4 separate regions of the Homo sapiens genome follow, and all the other regions are linked to region 3. The links are contacts of gene promoters, found by promoter capture Hi-C in human tissues and cell types (Jung and others, 2019). All regions are on one chromosome and are shown on one strand. The core of a region is centred on a gene start or on the middle of the fragment in contact, and the rest is flanking DNA. Distances in the headings are between cores, read along the strand shown.

Region 1 (4,280 bases), core at 863-3,362, 39 kb before region 3:
TGAGGCAGGAGAATGGCGTGAACCCGGAAGGCGGAGCTTGCAGTGAGCGGAGATCGCGCCACAGCACTCCCGCCTGGGCGACAGAACGAGACTCCGTCTCAAAAAAAAAAAAAAAAATCAATTGCCTTCATAGATAGGGAGTCAGGCTACCTATTTTCTCTTATGTGGGCTTTGGCAGCTTTTGATTTTTCAGGAATTTAACTATTTCACTCAAGTTCTTTGAATTTTTGGTATAAAGCTATTAAACTATTACCTTAGTGTTGTTTCTAATGTCTGCAGGATCTGTAGAGATGTGTTCTCTTTAATTGTATGTGTCTTTATTTGTGTTTTCTCTCTTTGTTTTGATCAGTCTGACTACGGATTTTTCAACGTTATTGATCTTTTCAAAGCTTGCTTTTGATTTCATTGAACTTCTCTACTATTTTTCTGTTTTTCTGCATCATTTTATATTTTATTTTGTTTCTTCTGCATCTTCTGTCTTTAGTTTTATCTTTTCAGTCTAGTTTCATAAGGTAAAACTCTGAGTCATTGATTTGAGACACTTCTAACAAAAGCGTTTAGTGCTTCACATTTTTCTCTAGGCTCTGTTTTTTGTTCAATTTGAAATATGTTTTCTAATTTTCTTTGTGATTTCCTTGACTTATTGATTAGTTAGAAGTATAGAGTTTAATTTTCATACATTTGGGGATTTTTCCAGAGGTTTTGGTTTATTCCTTATTTCTTATTTAATATCACTTCCTTATTTCTAATTTAATATCATTATGTTAAAAGAAAATATTTGTATAATTTCAATTTCAAATATGTTGACATTTGTAGTCTTCTATTGCTGAGTAGAATTTTATAAAAATGTCAATTAGGTTAATCTAGTTGATGGTGTTGTTCAGGTCGTCCATATTTGCTGACTTTCTTATCGTTTACTTGATCTATCAAATACTGAGAAAATTATGTTAACATCTTCACTAATAATGATGGGTTTGTCTATTCTTTCTGTATTTTTAGTGCTATTATTAAATTGTTAAAATTATTATATTGTCTTGAAAAATCAACTCCCTTATTATACAATATCCTATGTTAATTCTGGTAATATACCTTCTTATGGGAATTTATTAGAAATTATTATAGTCACTCCAGCTTTCTGACATAGTGTTGCATGGTAGATCTTCACTATCTTTTTACATTTAATCAATTTATTATTTTATATTAAAAATGAGTTCATTGATTGTAGAGAGCACACAGTTGGGTCTTTCTATTCAATTCTATATGTTGTTCTCTGCTTTTTAATCATTGTGTTTTAGATTATTTACCTTTACTGCTATTAGAGGATGAAGGTGTATTTAGGTGTACCATTTTGCTATTTGTTTTTTTTGTTGTTGTTGCTTTTGCTTTTGTTTTCTTTTTCTACACTTTTGCCTTTTTATTAATTAATTTTAATAATTTCATCTTATACCTAATATTGGCTTATTAGTTATACCTTTGTTTAAATGTGTTTACTAGTTGCTCTAAATTTTAAAACATAACTTATTTTTATTTTTATTTATTTTTTTTGAAACGCAGTTTTGGTCTTGTCACCCAAGCAGGAGTGCAATGGCGTGATCTCAGCTCACTGCAACCTCCGCCTCCCAAGTTCCAGCAGTTCTTCTGCCTCAGCCTCCTGATTAGCTGGGATTACAGGTGCCCACCACCATGCCAAGCTAATTTTTATATTTTTAGTAGAGACAGGGTTTCGCCATGTTGGCCAGGCTGGTCTCGAACTCCTGACTGCAGGTGATCCACCCACCTCGGACTCCCAAAGTTCTGGGATTACAGGCGCGGGCCACCGTGCCCAGCCTAAAACATAAATATTTAGTCTATCATAGTCCAATTTTAAATAATATTATAGTCCTTTACAAAACATGTAAAAATATTACAACGGTTCACTTCCATTTTTTTCCCTCTCATCTTTGTGCTATGGTTGTTGGCATTTATTTCTAAGTGTGTTATAAACTTCACAATACATTTACTTTTACTCCACAATACAGTTACTACTTTTACTTTATTCAGTCAGTTCTTATTTACAATTAATAAAAATAAATCTTTTTTGCCTTCATTATTTTTGCCATCTCTGGCACTCTTCATTTCTTTTGTAGGTTCAAATTTCCATTTGGTATCACATTTCTTCTTCCTGAAGAACTTTATTTAATATTTCTTGCAGTGTACTCACATGTGATAAAGTACGTCAGTTTTGTTTATCTGAAAAAGTATTCCATGCTTATATTTGAAAGAAATTCTCACTGTGTATAGATTTCTAGATGAGAGTTTTTTTCTTGTCAGCATTTTAAAGGTGCCCTCCTTTGTCTTATGCTGTGCCTCATTTCTGATGATAAATGGGTTGTAATTTTATCTTTGTATGTGTGTATAATATTTCTTTTTCTATACACATCTTCAAGATTTTATTTTGGTATCTGAGTTTTGGCAATTTGAATATGATTTTTTTCTCTATCCTGCTTAGGATTCTCTGAGCTTCTTGAATCTGGGATTTATTTCATTGATTTTGCAAAACTTTTAGCCATGATATCTGAAAATATTTCATTTGCCTTGTTACTCTGTCTTCTTCTTAGACTCAAATTAAACATCTGTTAGATTGTTTTATGTTGTTGTACAGCTTGTTCTATTTTTATCCACTCACTCTTCTCTTTTTATTCCAGTTGGGATAATTTCTGTTTCCATAACCTCATGTTCACTGACTCTTCCCTGTGTGATAGTCTTAACTCCATCAAAGAAATAATCTATTTTTATGTTGTTTTTTTTTGTTTCTAGCATTTCTATTTTACTTTAAGAAACAGTTTTATTGCTCTACTAAAATTTCTCATGTTCTCATGCACATTGCTTATGTTTTCTGCTATATCCTAATTATAGTTAGGGTAAAATTCCTGTTTGATAGATAGATCCAGTCTAGATCATTCCTGGTTCTGATTCTTTTGAATGCTTTCACTTAACAATGAGTAAGTATTTTCTTGCTGCTTTTGAAATATAATTTTTATTAAATGCTGGAAATTGTTGGTAAAAGAACAGTAGAGACTAGGCTATAGAGTATTTATACTTAAAAATGGGGTGCTGGTCCTTCTGTCAGACTATGTGTGTAAGTGGTTGAGGTGTTTTGGGTATTGTTACTATAATTACTTGCAGTGCTCCACAGATTTCAAATTCTTCTGACCATGAAGAATGATGCTTTGTTGAACCTAAATAGGAGATTTTAATCAGTGTTCCTGCTCTACCCAAATTTTACCAAGCGTAGCATTGCCTTTGTAATACAAGGTATCTCCATACTTTGGCTTCTTTCCCGGAAATAGGTGCTGTTGATTTTTTCTTGGTGCAAGGCTTGTGACAGGGGCAAAGATATCCTTGTTTTCCCTGATCCAGCCTCCATCCTAGTCAGCCCCTATAAACCTGAGACTTGGGAAGTGGTGTTCCTACCTCATCTCACCAGTCATGGCAGCCAGACTCTACTTTTTATTTGTGACTGGTCATGGGTGGGAGTTTCTGCCCTTATCCTAGTGGACTCCTAGTAGCAGGGCAGGATCCTAGCTTGAATGGATTTCTACCTCTTCCCTAAGAGCAAACTGCTTTTACTTCTACTTTTCCCTCAGTAGCAACTCACTTTTGTCTGGACAAGTGGCAAGAAGGCTTTCTGACCTTTCTCCAGAGGTAAACAAATGTTGATTTTGTTTGCAAGGCTTATGGTAGGAGCTGAGAGATTTCCCATCCTCCTTCAGGGAAGAAAACATTTTGCTTCTATCTTGGTTCTTTAAAGATAATTTTATTTCTTTCTCTGAATACTTTAAAAAGAAAAATTGTGGTTGAGCGCGTCGGCTCACCCCTGTAATCCCAGCACTTTGGGAGGCTGAGGTGGGTGGATTGCCTGAGGTCAGGAGTTCGAGACCAGTCTGGCCAACATGGTGAAATCCCGTCTCTACTAAAAATACAAAAAAGTTAGCCAGGTGTGGTGGCATGCGCCTGTAATCCCAGCTACTTGGGAGGCTGAGGCAGGGGAATTACTTGAACCAGGGAGATGGAGGTTACAGTTAGCTGAGACTGCGCCACCGTACTCTAGCCTGGGCGGCAGAGTGAGACTCCGTCGCACCAACCCCACAAAAAAATTAAAAAATAAATTATAAATAAATAAAAGAAAAAGAAAAATTGTGTTACCTTTGGTTTGCAGCAGTTTTACTCTGATATACCTAGGTATGTTTCTATTGTATTTTTCCCGTTTGAGATTTGTAACACTTTATGCATCTGTGTTT
Region 2 (4,005 bases), core at 658-3,157, 40 kb after region 3:
GCCTATTGGAAAATCCGATTTTTATTCTCAAATATTTTCTGGTGCTCGATTTTAAAAAACAAATTTCTTCTTAACGGCTTTCTTGGTTAGAATTTCATCTTATTTTGCCCTTGTATCAATAGCTCCTTCCTTCCTCCTATATGTCCAAATATCTTTCATAAGCAACTACTAAGTAGGAGTGCCTGTAGTCTCAAGCTGGCCCACAGGAATTTAATTTATTAGCACTGGCTGGTAAAATGCTATCCTAAAAACTTAAGGCTGGGCTGGGCGCCATGGCTCATGCCTGTAATCCCAGCACTTTGAAAGGCCGAGGCGAATGGATCACGAGGTCAAGAGTTGAAGACCAGCCTGGCCAAGATGGTGAAATCCCGTGTCTACTAAAAATACCAAAAAATCAGCCAGGTGTGGTGGTGGCTGCCTGTAATCCCAGCTACTCGGGAGGCTGAGGCAGGAGAATTGCTTGAACCTGGGAGGCAGAGGTTGCAGTGTGCCGAGATTGTGCCACTGCGCTCCAGCCTAGGTGACAGAGCAAGACTCCATCTCAAAAATTAAAAAGAATTAAAAAAAAAACAAGGCTATTAAATAAAAAAGAGAAAAATAGAAGTCTAATAGATTGACTGTGAGGTACATGATATTCAGTTTCCACATACTTAATGCCCACTCTAACATTCCTTCTTCAGAATGAAGATTCGGATAACCCCTTGGGTGAATAATCCAAACAAGCTAAGGAGCTGGGTGAGGGCAAAGGGATTATGGAATGGGTGGAGCAGAAAAGTCACAAACACTGTGACCACGTGGCCAGTCACAGAAATGAGGATATAGCGTCTTCACAAATTTTTCTCCTTGATGTGTCACATGTATATTGGTATGTTTTATTAATTCTTCATTCATCTCCTGTCCCTTACTATTTTATTTGGGTTTGTTCATAGCAGCACATTTTTCAGATTGGTCCACAGGTTATAGAATATCAAGGCAGGATTTTGACATTCCAGAGGAGGCCTGGTATTTGTTGAAAACATCCAGTCTCGGAGATGGGTGAAACTCTGACATCATCTGAGAAGACGGCTAGTGTGTTCCAACTGTGCACAGTGTCAGATGAGAACGTTTTAAGTGGGAGGCATTGTTAACATGAGAAGAAAGAAGTGTATGTATGTTGGAGGAGCCAAAGATGTGAAATGTAAACATCTGTCATGATGTTGTTTTTCTGTCCAGCGTCTTCTTCCTTTGATGCTTGGGGTATCCTCTCTTAGGAGAGGCTAAAATATTCTCAGCATCTTCTGCAGTAGGGGCACAGGTTTGTGACCCGGTCTCTATTACTCAGGTGTTTTTGTGCCAGTCAAGGACTAGTGATACAAAAAGGGAGGAACTGCCCAGAATTAAATGTGGTGAGACTGACACTAGAGGCAGTAGCAAGTCCAGTTTCCTGAATAACTAGTGTTAACAATTCTAGGATTATCCGGTGTACCATGGGTATCAGCAGCACACACTACCCTGTCTGTGCCTCCCCCCCAAAAAAACTGCATCAATGCCTTCATAGAATCACTTCTGTAGAATGATTTTTTAAATGTTTTTCTTGACGGTAGTCAACTCCAAGCATTATTCTCAGAGATTACGTGAGCTATTAATACTCCTTAATAAATGTGTTTTCTGCTAAAACTAGCCAAAGTTTTCATCTGTTGCTTGCAACTATAAATACTGGATGATGATGATAATGATGATGATGATATATGGAAACTCGGTAAAGGCCACCGCCACAACACTCGGCTAATTTTTGAATTTCTGGTGGAGACGGGGTTTCATCATGATCTTTTAAAAACACCACACTTTCTTAATTACTGTAGCCTTATAGTAAGGCTTAGATGCAAATAGTGCAAATCCTCTGAATTTGTAATTCTTTTTCAAGAGAGTTTTGGCTGTTATACACCATTATAAAATACTTGAGACCAGAAAATAACTACCTTCAAGGGTTAAAAGGAACAAAACCCAGCGCTACAATGGGCCAGTACCAATGCTTATTCCCATCAATCAGACCAGAAAAAAAAAAAAAACCCTGATAATTTATAACCCTTTGCATAGAGTACTTAGAGCTTCTTCCCTCAGCAGTGGTGAATAATTAACCCTAGGGTAAATGCTGCTCTGGTCCTACCTAACAAATTCGAAAAGCAAGACCCAAAAGGATCAAACTAATTCCAGGTAATTTAACTGAATGCCAGAACAAAGTTCATGAATATTTAGAGGAATACAAAAATATCCAGCACGCAAAATGACAAAAACTCACAATGACTATCAACCATGTATACAAAGGAGCAGGAAAATATGACCAATTTTAAGAAGGAAACTATCAGTCAAGAAAGACCCACTTGGTAGGCTGAAGTGAGAGGGTTGTTTGAGCCCAGGAGTTTGAGGATGTAGTGTGGTATGATCTCACCTGTGAAGTAGCCACAGCACTCCAGCCTGAGCAACATAGTGAGATTCCACCTCTAAAAAAAAATTAAGATTAAAAGAAGACCCAAATCTAGCACAGGCATTTGAACTAGCACTCAAAAACATCAAAGCAATTATTATAACTGCAATCATATGTTTAAAAGATTAAAGTCATGGAAAATATTTTTAAAGAACCAAAACTAACTTCTAGACATGAAAAATACGGTTCCTAAGAGAAAAACACAACTGGATGGAATTAACAGCAGGATTATGCACTGTAAAAAAAAAATTAGTTAAGTTGGTGACACAGCAATAGGAACTATTCAAAATGAAATACAAAGAGAAAAAAGAGCAAAAATCTAACTGAGCATATATAAAATATGAGAAACTTAATCTACCTAGTTTACATGTAATTGGAAAAATATTTGGAGAAAGAATTCCCCCTCAATTACCAAATTGGACGAAAACTATAAATCCAAAGTTCAAAGAACCTTGGTGATCCCCAAACACACACACACACACACACACATAAAACTATACTAAGACATATAATAAATTGCTTAAAATGAGTAATAAAGAGAAAACCTTAAAAATCGTCAGAGGGAAAAAATATACATACAAAACTACAAAAATAATGATGAAAGCTGACTTATCATAAACAACGCAAGCCAAAGATAGAGGAGCCACATCTTTTAAGTCAGAGATGAGTAGAAGAGAGGGATTGTAAATGAGCATAGGGAAAGTCTTGGAGATCATCTCCAAATGTTCATTTTCTTGATTGTAGTAATGTTTCCACTGGCATATACAGATATCAAAACTTATCAAGTTTTACACTGTTAATATGTGCTGTTTATTGTAGGTCAGTTACACCTAAATAAAGCTATTAAAAAAATAAATGCATGAAAACAAGGTCAACTTCACTGATAATGAAATGAGTATGAATCAAATCAACAATGATATTTCTTTGTCTCTTTCATGTGCTTGAATATATTATCTCGATCTTAGTAATTAATGATCTTGATAGTTTAGTGAGAAATGACACTCAATGCATTTTTAATAGAAACAACACTTTGGAAAACAACTTGGAAGTAAGCCTCAGAAGCTTTGAGCCATTAGTTCCACTTCTAGTCATATAGCAAGAAAATCTCAAACATAAGAAATATTTAATCCGGAATGATTTTTCAAGGCAATATTATATGTAAGAGTCCAAAAACTGAACTCAAGGCTACTACTGTGAAAATAAACAACACGATGGCTTTGCACACAGAAGTTTCTTTCTTCTTTACACAAAAATGCAAGCCAAGGGGCATTCTTTCATCCACTGATCAGAGATCCATACTTGCTCCATCGTGAAATTCTGCTATCTCAATATATGGCTTTTACAGGCACTGTGGCAGGGGAAGAGAATATGACAAACTCATACCTTAATTGCTTCTGACCGGAAGCGAACCACGTAATTTTACTCACAGCCCATTGGCAAGCACTAATTCCATGTGCCCTATCCTGAATAAATGAAAGGCTGGTAACTGTGGAACATACAAAACAGCACTACAGGCGCTACTATAATCCACAAGACAGGAA
Region 3 (4,248 bases), core at 527-3,026:
TCCAATCCATAATCTGCTCTTCTTCTATGACTAACTTTATTTTATTAACTATAGCATTTATTATCATGCCTTGTGTTTTCCAGCAGTCTTTTATTAAAATAGGCTGCTAATACTTAAATATCTTTCACTGATATGTTAACCCATCAAGTATGCTGTGTTTTTCCATGGCTATTGTGGGTTTCAAAATAATTAATATTCAAAAAATATATCTTGTTTCGAATGTTTATGGACTGATGTTAGACAAAGAAAATGTAAATATCATCTGCATTTGGAAAGCCAGTTGAAGGAGGAAATATGTATGAGCCAGATGATTTTAATGCACCTTCAGTTAAAACCATCTCCATATTATTCTGGGCTCACCTTCCAGCTAAATATAACTGGCTTTCTATTCTTATATCAAGGTGAATGGACTAGGTGTCAGGTAACATGCTTCATATCCAACCACTTCTATAGGAAGCCAGAGCTTGATCTTTACTGCTCTAATCTGTGGAATCTATACTTTCCCTACACCGGTGACATTCATTGAGGTCAACTAACTAAGGAAAAAATGTGAGAATATTTCTTCAATTTGTCTGTACAAACACAACTACCAAAACCTCTTAATACAAGCATGCAGCCAAGTTACAAAACCAGTATTGGACAATGAACACAGCTAATAGTCCTATTTAGCTCTTTGTGGTGTACAAGTGTGACTTTTGTGCTCTTCACAGTACTTGTCCAACACCAACAACATTACCTTTTTGCCAGGCATCTAATGTTGCTTTAGTAAGCAATAAAATTCTATTTTACATTCTTAGAGTTATATCATCTTCATACTCAACAAACATCAAATCAATTTTTTCTATATGTGTTCTGAGCTTTCTTTTGACCATTGAAAATAACCAATTCACGCTGCCTGCTCAGAACACAGTACTGAAAAATGGCATACCCTGTGGTTCACCTCCATAAACAGGATCACAATGAAAAAAGGAATTACTGCTTCCTGTGTTTTATGAATTGGGGTGAATGTAGGATAATCACTGTGACCATAAGAAATAGAAAACAATGTGTGATATAGTAAGACAGGTGCTATTGAAATATTCTGTGAATGATTATCTTTTTTAAAGCCCTGTCTCTAATTCCTGAAATGTATTACATTTATGTTGCACATTGTCCTTTTTTGTGAAATGTTTAAAAATGCAATAATGCTAAATGAAACTTTTATAATATAAAGTACCTAAACATTATCAACTGGTATAACAGCTTACACTGATCCTTTACATCACATAATAGTAAAAGCTGGAGTTTTAGATGTAAATAACCTGAAAATTACAGGAAAAAAATCAGAGAAGAGGTATGAATAGCAAAGCTCAAAATTTTCTAGATAAATATTACCTTTATTGGAATGGCTAAGTTAAGCTAATTAATATATGCATCACATCACATACATATTATTTTTGTAACAAGATTTCTTAAAATCTATGCCATAAATATATACAATTTTTATTTGTCAAACAAATAAATAAAACAAAATTACTTTTGTTGGACCCAGGTAAAATATCCTCCATGTGTCTTCTCTGTTTATCCAGTAATTATTAGTTACAGCAAATATCAGGACTGAAATATTCTTCTATCAACGACAAAGAAAGAACAAAAAAATAAGTGTTTAGATTCCTCACACAGTTCATTTTACATAACAAAAAAACTCTAATTTAACAGTTAAATTTCAATCAGTCAAGATCTCTCTTTAGTAAAGCAAATCAATTCATTGATTCCATGGAATCTATTTTCTTTATTATAAAAATTAAATCTAAATTGCAACAAATTAAATGTTCTTTTTCAACCTATCCTATCTCGGTAAATTCACCCATTACTCTTTTTCTTATTGTTTCAATCGACTACCATCTTATAATATCTTTGACTGAAAATATATGTCACCTGAAGAAGATGAAGAGTGAAAAATTCACAGAACCATGTTAGCAGATGTTCAAACCTGGACTAGCCTTTATCTGGATGGGGTAGATAAAATTGGGCTATATAGACGTTCCTGCCTTCCTTTCTCTGAATTTATATTCTAACCCCTTATCTATGAGCCAAAAAGCTCCATGCAAGTCTCTGTAGCTCTCTATATTCAGGCCTGCCTTCCAGCAGATGTGGCCCCTGTTCTAAAATTGCCTTTTCCTCTCCCCTTCTTAAAAAGAACACAGGGAAAGGCAAGATCTTAAGTGAAGTTAAATATCTTACTCATAGTAAATTCTTAGGCAGTGATATATGTTAATATTTGTTGTAAACATCTGGTATTTTGAAATTATGCAATCATTCCGCCAACTAGTCTGTTAGAATTTTATTTAACCCTGAAGAGTTGATCTCCGAGATGGGGGTGCCATCCATGCTCAGCTCCCTACAGCTCTGCAGAATGCTGAGAAGAAAGGGTACAGCCCCAAGCAACAATGACTTCTCCCCTAAAGTTCCTTTTCAGCCTTTTGCCACATCCTCCCCCTATTGCTGCTTTAATGAAATGAGAAGACGTTGGAGGAACCATGAGCCACTGTTCATCAAGTAAAAGATGAGAAGCCAGACCCATAGTTAAAGATCAATCAGGCATTGACAGAACTTATCACTGTGTTGGTGCCACGCAGACAGGATCATAATTTGTGGGGCTCTGGAAATGTCTTCACGTGCTGCTGTTCACATTTTTGTTTTATTATTTTTAATTGCATTTAAATTCCATTGCTACTCTGTGGACCAAGACTGAAATATATTCAATTTATTCTTGCAAGGAATCAAATGTCCAGGGCTTGACACCTAGGTATATTTTCCATTCGCAACATTGAGTTCCATGATTTGCTATCCTACCCCAGTCAGTGTATTATACATTTTAAAGTATCTAACATAATTTTCTACCTCTATTGACTGGCTGGCTTAAGACATTAACTTCTCCCTTTTCCTCCATATTAGGAAGAGGGAAGTGTTGACTTGGAAAGACTCAGGAGGTATGCACGCCAGAAAAGCATTCCTCAATGTCTCACATTCCAAAAATATATTTCTGAATATAATCCTTTCCAATATTTACATCAATTCAAAGAGTGCATGGTTAAATAAAACCTTGTAAGAGCCTTGTAAATTTATTCTGAGACATACTGAGGCTTCGGGGCATATTACCAATATTCTCTTATTCATTATAGTGATAATTCCCTAAAGCTAAGGACTAAAAAGCCAAAAACTTTCTCTCCAGAAAATGAGTACACCATGATTCTAATACTCCACTGAGTTTTAATCCTATTTGCCCTTCTTATTGGAGTCCTCTACAATCTTAGCTGAGGCAAATAGAGCTCTGAATACTCTGTATTCAACAGAGCACATGAAGGTTAAGTCCCACAAAAAAACATACGTTTTTCTTTCATGCTGCTCTAAATAAACCAGACACCTTCCTTTACAGACTTGGGCTGTCATTAGAAATGTTCATTTCATTTAGAGGAAGGTGCATCTGACCTGCGGTTGAGCACTTGGTTGTATACGCTGAATGCATCCATCATGGGCAGAAGTATTTCCATCATCCTAACATTTGGACACCCAGAACCCAAGTGCCACTGGGTGGGTGAGATCTCAAAGATGGTTTTAGATATCCTGAGAAGACAATTAGTCTTTCTTCTTTGAGACCTTGTTGTCTATTTCCTGTCTTGATTTGGTTGACTTTTCATATAATCTGAGTCCAATTATTAGACCCAGTGTCTCAAATATGGTGCAATCCTAAAATTCGCCTTTGCCGATATGTTTTATCATGGTTTCATTCTGTAAATGCTCATCTTCTTTATATCTCCTCTCTTCTATATCTAAGTCTAGGGTATTCTTTTGCACATAATTTCCTTAGTCTGGATAGTCTCAACAGTGACTATCAATAGTCTCAACTCTACAACACACTCTAGATTAACGAAGCCTGAGTCAGGGGCATCAACTGTAGTACCAGTTCATATTCTGAGAGCTGTAGACATCTATCAATTTATTTCATCATCTTACATTTAAAATTTCCATCATAGAAAGGAAAATTAAAATCAAAATACTCTTAGGGAAATAATTGAGAGAAAAGACATTAAAACAATTGACAATTTATCTGGAAATATACATATTTGGAAAGGTAATATATTCCTGCCACATGTTCATGGATATCAATCAACATCTAAGTAAAAGTTTTATAGCTACGAGTTTCTCCTCTAAGTGTCTTTCCCAAAAATAATGTAGAATTCATCCATGGTATCTCTATTTAAAAAT
Region 4 (4,299 bases), core at 259-2,758, 61 kb before region 3:
GCGACGGGGTTTCACCACTTTGGTCAGGCTGGTCCCGAACTCCTGACCGCCCGCCTTGGCCTCCCAAAGTGCTGGGATTGCAGGCGTGAGCCACCGCACCCAGCCTCTTGGCTGTGTTTTAACCATTCTTGGCCCTGACTTTAGATGTCTATTCAAGTGTTGGAACTCAAAACATTATCTGGGCAAGCAGGATAGTTCTCACAGCTTCCCTTCCTGTGACCAGGGCTCAGCTTACTTATACCTATAATAACCCCACGTGCCATGCTGTCACTGTCACCAGAGGTAGGAAGTTACTTTTCATTGGCCCAACTGCTTCTGATTTTCTTAGAGTGTAAAACATTATTGGAAATGAACATATCTCTACATATTTGGGGCAGCAAGGACACATGGAAAGTTCTATGTCTTTTCTTAGAGCAGCATCACAGCCATTGACCGTGTTGCTCATCTTAAGTTTGTTGTACTGACTGTGCTGAGGATTCTCATCAGCTCTCTTTTCCCAGTTTGCGAGACAAGCACAAACTAAATGTTAAGAGCTCCTTTATATAGCTAATTATCAATATACCTGTAAATTTTTGTCTTTCTATGTGTGAGAGGCTTTTTCAGGAGTGTTAATTGGGTATTATTTGCAATCTAAATTTCCAGAGTTGTAATTTTAGATAGATTAGACTAGATATACTGTGTTTGAATATTCACAATCCTTGGATGTTACAACTTCTTCCAAGTGGTTTCCAAACTCAAGCATAAAGGTATTTATTTATATCCCCCAATTTTTCTTCCTAATGGGTACAGAGGTAACTATCCTGTAACTTCCTAAATAAACATAAAAATAAGATTATAATAATAACTCTTAGTCCCAGTTGTTTGTATTCATGTGTAAATATAAAGTATCTACATTATAATTACTTTTAAAATATTTTATTATATTATTATATTTTAATGTGATATGAATTTCTCATTATGAAAATAAACTTTTCTTTCTTTTTTTTAAATTATACTTTAAGTTCTGGGATACATGTGCAGAACATGCAGGTTTGTTACATAGGTATACATGTGCCATGGTGGTTTGCTGCACCCATCAACCCATCATCTAGGTTTTAGGCCCCGCATGCATTAGGTATTTGTCCTAATGCTCTCCCTCCCCTTGCACCCCCACCCCCTGGCAGGCACAGGTATGTGATGTTCCCCTCCCTGTGTCCATGTGTTCTCAATGTTCAACTTCCATTTATAAGTGAGAGCATGTGGTGTTTGGTTTTCTGTTCCTGTGTTAGTTTGCTGAGAATGATGGTTTCCAGCTTCATCCACATCCCTGCAAAGGACAAGAACTCATTCTTTTTTATGGCTGCATAGTATTCCATGGTATATATGTGCCACATTTTCTTTATCAAGCCTATCATTGATGGGCATTTGGGTTGGTTCCAAGGCTTTGCTATTGTAAATAGTGCTGTAATAAACATATGTTTGCATGTGTCTTTATAGTAGAATGATTTATAATCCTTTCGATATATACCCAGTAATGGGATTGCTGGGTCAATGGTATTTCTAGTTCTAGATCCTTGAGGAATCGCCACACTGTCTTTCACAAGGGTTGAACTAATTTACACTCCCACCAACAGTGTAAAAGTGTTCCTATGTCTCCACATCCTCGCCAGCATCTGTTGTTTCCTGACGTTTTAGTGATCACCATTCTAACTGGCGTGAGATGGTATCTCATTGTGGTTTTGATTTGCATTTCTCTAATGACCAGTGTTGATAAGCTTTTTTTCATATGTCTGTTGGCTCCATAAATGTCTTATTTTGAGAAGTGTCTGTTCATATCATTTGCCCACTTTTTGATGGGGTTTTTTTTTTCTTGTAAATTTGTTTATGTTCCTTGTAGATTCTGGATATTAGCCCTTTGTCAGATGGATAGATTGCAAAAGTTTTCTTCCATTCTGTAGGTTGCCTGTTCACTCTGCTGATAGTTTCTTTTGCTGTGCAGAAGCTCTTTAGTTTAATTGGATCCCATTTGTCTGCTTTGGCTTTTGTTGCAATTGCTTTCAGTGTTTTAGTCATGAAGTCTTTGCCCATGCCTATGTCCTGAATGGTATTGCCTAGGTTTTATGCTAGGGTTTTTATGGTTTTAGGTCTTACATGTAAGCCTTTAATCCATCTTGAGATAATTTTGGTATAAGGTGTAAGAAAGGCATCCAGTTTCACTTTTCTGCATATGGCTAGCCAGTTTTCCCAGCACCATTTATGAAATAGAGAGTCCTTTCCCCATTGCTTGCTTTTTTCAGGTTTGTTGAAGTTCAGATGGTTGTAGATGTGTAGGTGTTATTTATGAGGTCTCTGTTCTGTTCCATTTGTCTGTATATCTGTTTTGGTACCAGTACCATGCTGTTTTGGTTACTGTAGACTTGCAGTATAGTTTGAAGTCAGGTAGTGTGATGCCTCCAGCTTTGTTTTTTTGCTTAGGATTGTCTTGGCTATACAGGCTCTTTTTTGGTTCCATATGAAATTTAAAGCAGTTTTTTCTAATTCTGTGAAAAAAGTCAATGGTAGCTTGATGAGAATAGCTTTGAATCTATAAATTACTTTGGGCAGTATGGCCATTTTCACAATATTGATTCTTCCTATCCATGAGCATGGAATTTTTTTCCATTTGGAAAAAAACTTTTCATTTGATTTTTTTAACTTTTATTTTAAGTTCAGGAATACAAATTCAGGTTTGTTACATAGGTAAACTTGTGTTATGGAGGTTTGTTGTGGAGATTATTTCATCACCCACGTATTAAGCCTGGTACCCATTAGTTGTTTTTCCTGATCCTCTTCCTTCTCCCACCCTCCACCCTCTGATAGGCCCCAGTGTGTGTTATTCCCCTCTATGCATTCATGTGTTCTTATCATTTAACTCCCACTTATAAATGAGAACATGTGGTAGTTGGTTTTCTGTTCTTGTGTTACCTTGCTAAGGATAATGGCCTCCAGCTCCATCTATGTTCCCACAAAGGACATGATCTCATTCTTTCTATGGCTAAATAGTATTCCATGGTGTATATATACAACATTTTCTTTATCCAGCCTATCATTGATGGGCATTTAGATTGATTGCCTGTCTTTGCTATTGCGAATAGTGCTGCACTGAACATATGCATGCATGTCTCTTTATAATAGAATGTTTCCACTTAATTTAGAAGTTTTAATCATTTAAAACTACCTTCTCAACTGCTCATACAGTGCTGATGGGAGTGTAAATTGGTACAGCCCACTTTGAAAAACTATTTCACAATATGTTATCAGGCTGGGCATATTCATATCCTGTGATTTAGCATTCCAGTCTTAGTTATATGCCCAACAGAAATACATCTATAGGTTCAGCAAAGATATGTACTAGAATATCCATGCAATGCTATTCCTGATGGTCCCAAACTGGACACTATACAAAAAGAGTGAGAAGGATAAATAAATTATAGTATTTTCTCTTTTTTAAAATTTTATTTTAAGTTTTGGGATACATGTGCAGAGCATGCAGGTTTGTTACGTAGGTAGATGTGTTACATGGTGGTTTGCTGCACCTATCAACCCATCACCTAGGTATTAAGCCCCACATGCCTTAGCTATTTATCCTGATGCTCTCCCTTCCCCTCCCCATCCCCGACAGGCCCTGGTGTGTGATGTTCCCCTCCCTGTGCCCATGTATTCTCCTTGTTCAACTCCCACTTATGAGTGAGAACATGCAGTGTTTGGTTTTCTGTTCCTGTGTTAGTTTGGTAAGGATGATGGCTTCCAGCTTCATCCACGTCCCTGCAAAGGATATGATCTCACTTATTTTTATGGCTGCATAGTATTCCGTAATGCATATTTACCACATTTTCTTTATCCAGTCTATCATTGATGGACATTTGGGTTGATTCCATGTCTTTGCTATTGCGAATAGTGCTGCAACGAACATAAGTGTGCATGCATGTATCTTTATAAAGAAATTATTTATATTCCTTTAGGTATATACCCAGTGATGGGATTGCTGGGTCAAATAGTATTTCTGGTTCTAGATCCTTGAGGAATCACCACAATATCTTCCACAATGGTTGCACTAATTTACATTCCCACCAACAATGTAAAAGCATTCCTATTTGTCCACAGCCTCACGAGCATCTGCTGTTTCTTGACTTTTCAATAATCACCATTCTGACTAATAATAGTATTTTCACACAGTGAAATACTATACTATGATAAGAATGTGTTATCTACAACTACATGGAACAACAGGAAAGATCTCAGAAACATAAAATTGAGTGAAAGAAGCTATACACAGAGAAT

What was found. Contacts are between HindIII fragments. The study calls those that stand out against the background at their distance.
Region 1: a fragment that was not itself captured here is called in contact with the fragment with the promoter of OR2F1 in region 3 in 1 of the 25 tissues and cell types used here (hippocampus).
Region 2: a contact is called between a fragment that was not itself captured here and the fragment with the promoter of OR2F1 in region 3, in 5 of the 25 tissues and cell types used here (adrenal gland, aorta, hippocampus and 2 more).
Region 4: a fragment that was not itself captured here is called in contact with the fragment with the promoter of OR2F1 in region 3 in 1 of the 25 tissues and cell types used here (liver).

What each region holds. Positions count from the first base shown.
Region 1 is chr7:143,991,285-143,995,564 of GRCh38, reverse strand. No RefSeq gene overlaps it. Among named protein-coding and RNA genes, the nearest start is that of OR6B1, 6.9 kb to the left of the region's middle. The HindIII fragment of the contact is 6,072 bases long and covers 1-4,280 here.
Region 2 is chr7:143,912,539-143,916,543 of GRCh38, reverse strand. No RefSeq gene overlaps it. Among named protein-coding and RNA genes, the nearest start is that of TCAF1, 12 kb to the right of the region's middle. The HindIII fragment of the contact is 8,681 bases long and covers 1-4,005 here.
Region 3 is chr7:143,952,372-143,956,619 of GRCh38, reverse strand. OR2F1 (olfactory receptor family 2 subfamily F member 1) reads right to left here and starts at 1,776. Exons shown (of 3, transcript NM_012369.3): 1 at 1,517-1,776. The HindIII fragment of the contact is 7,987 bases long and covers 1-3,466 here.
Region 4 is chr7:144,013,063-144,017,361 of GRCh38, reverse strand. No RefSeq gene overlaps it. Among named protein-coding and RNA genes, the nearest start is that of OR6B1, 15 kb to the right of the region's middle. The HindIII fragment of the contact is 3,640 bases long and covers 1-3,328 here.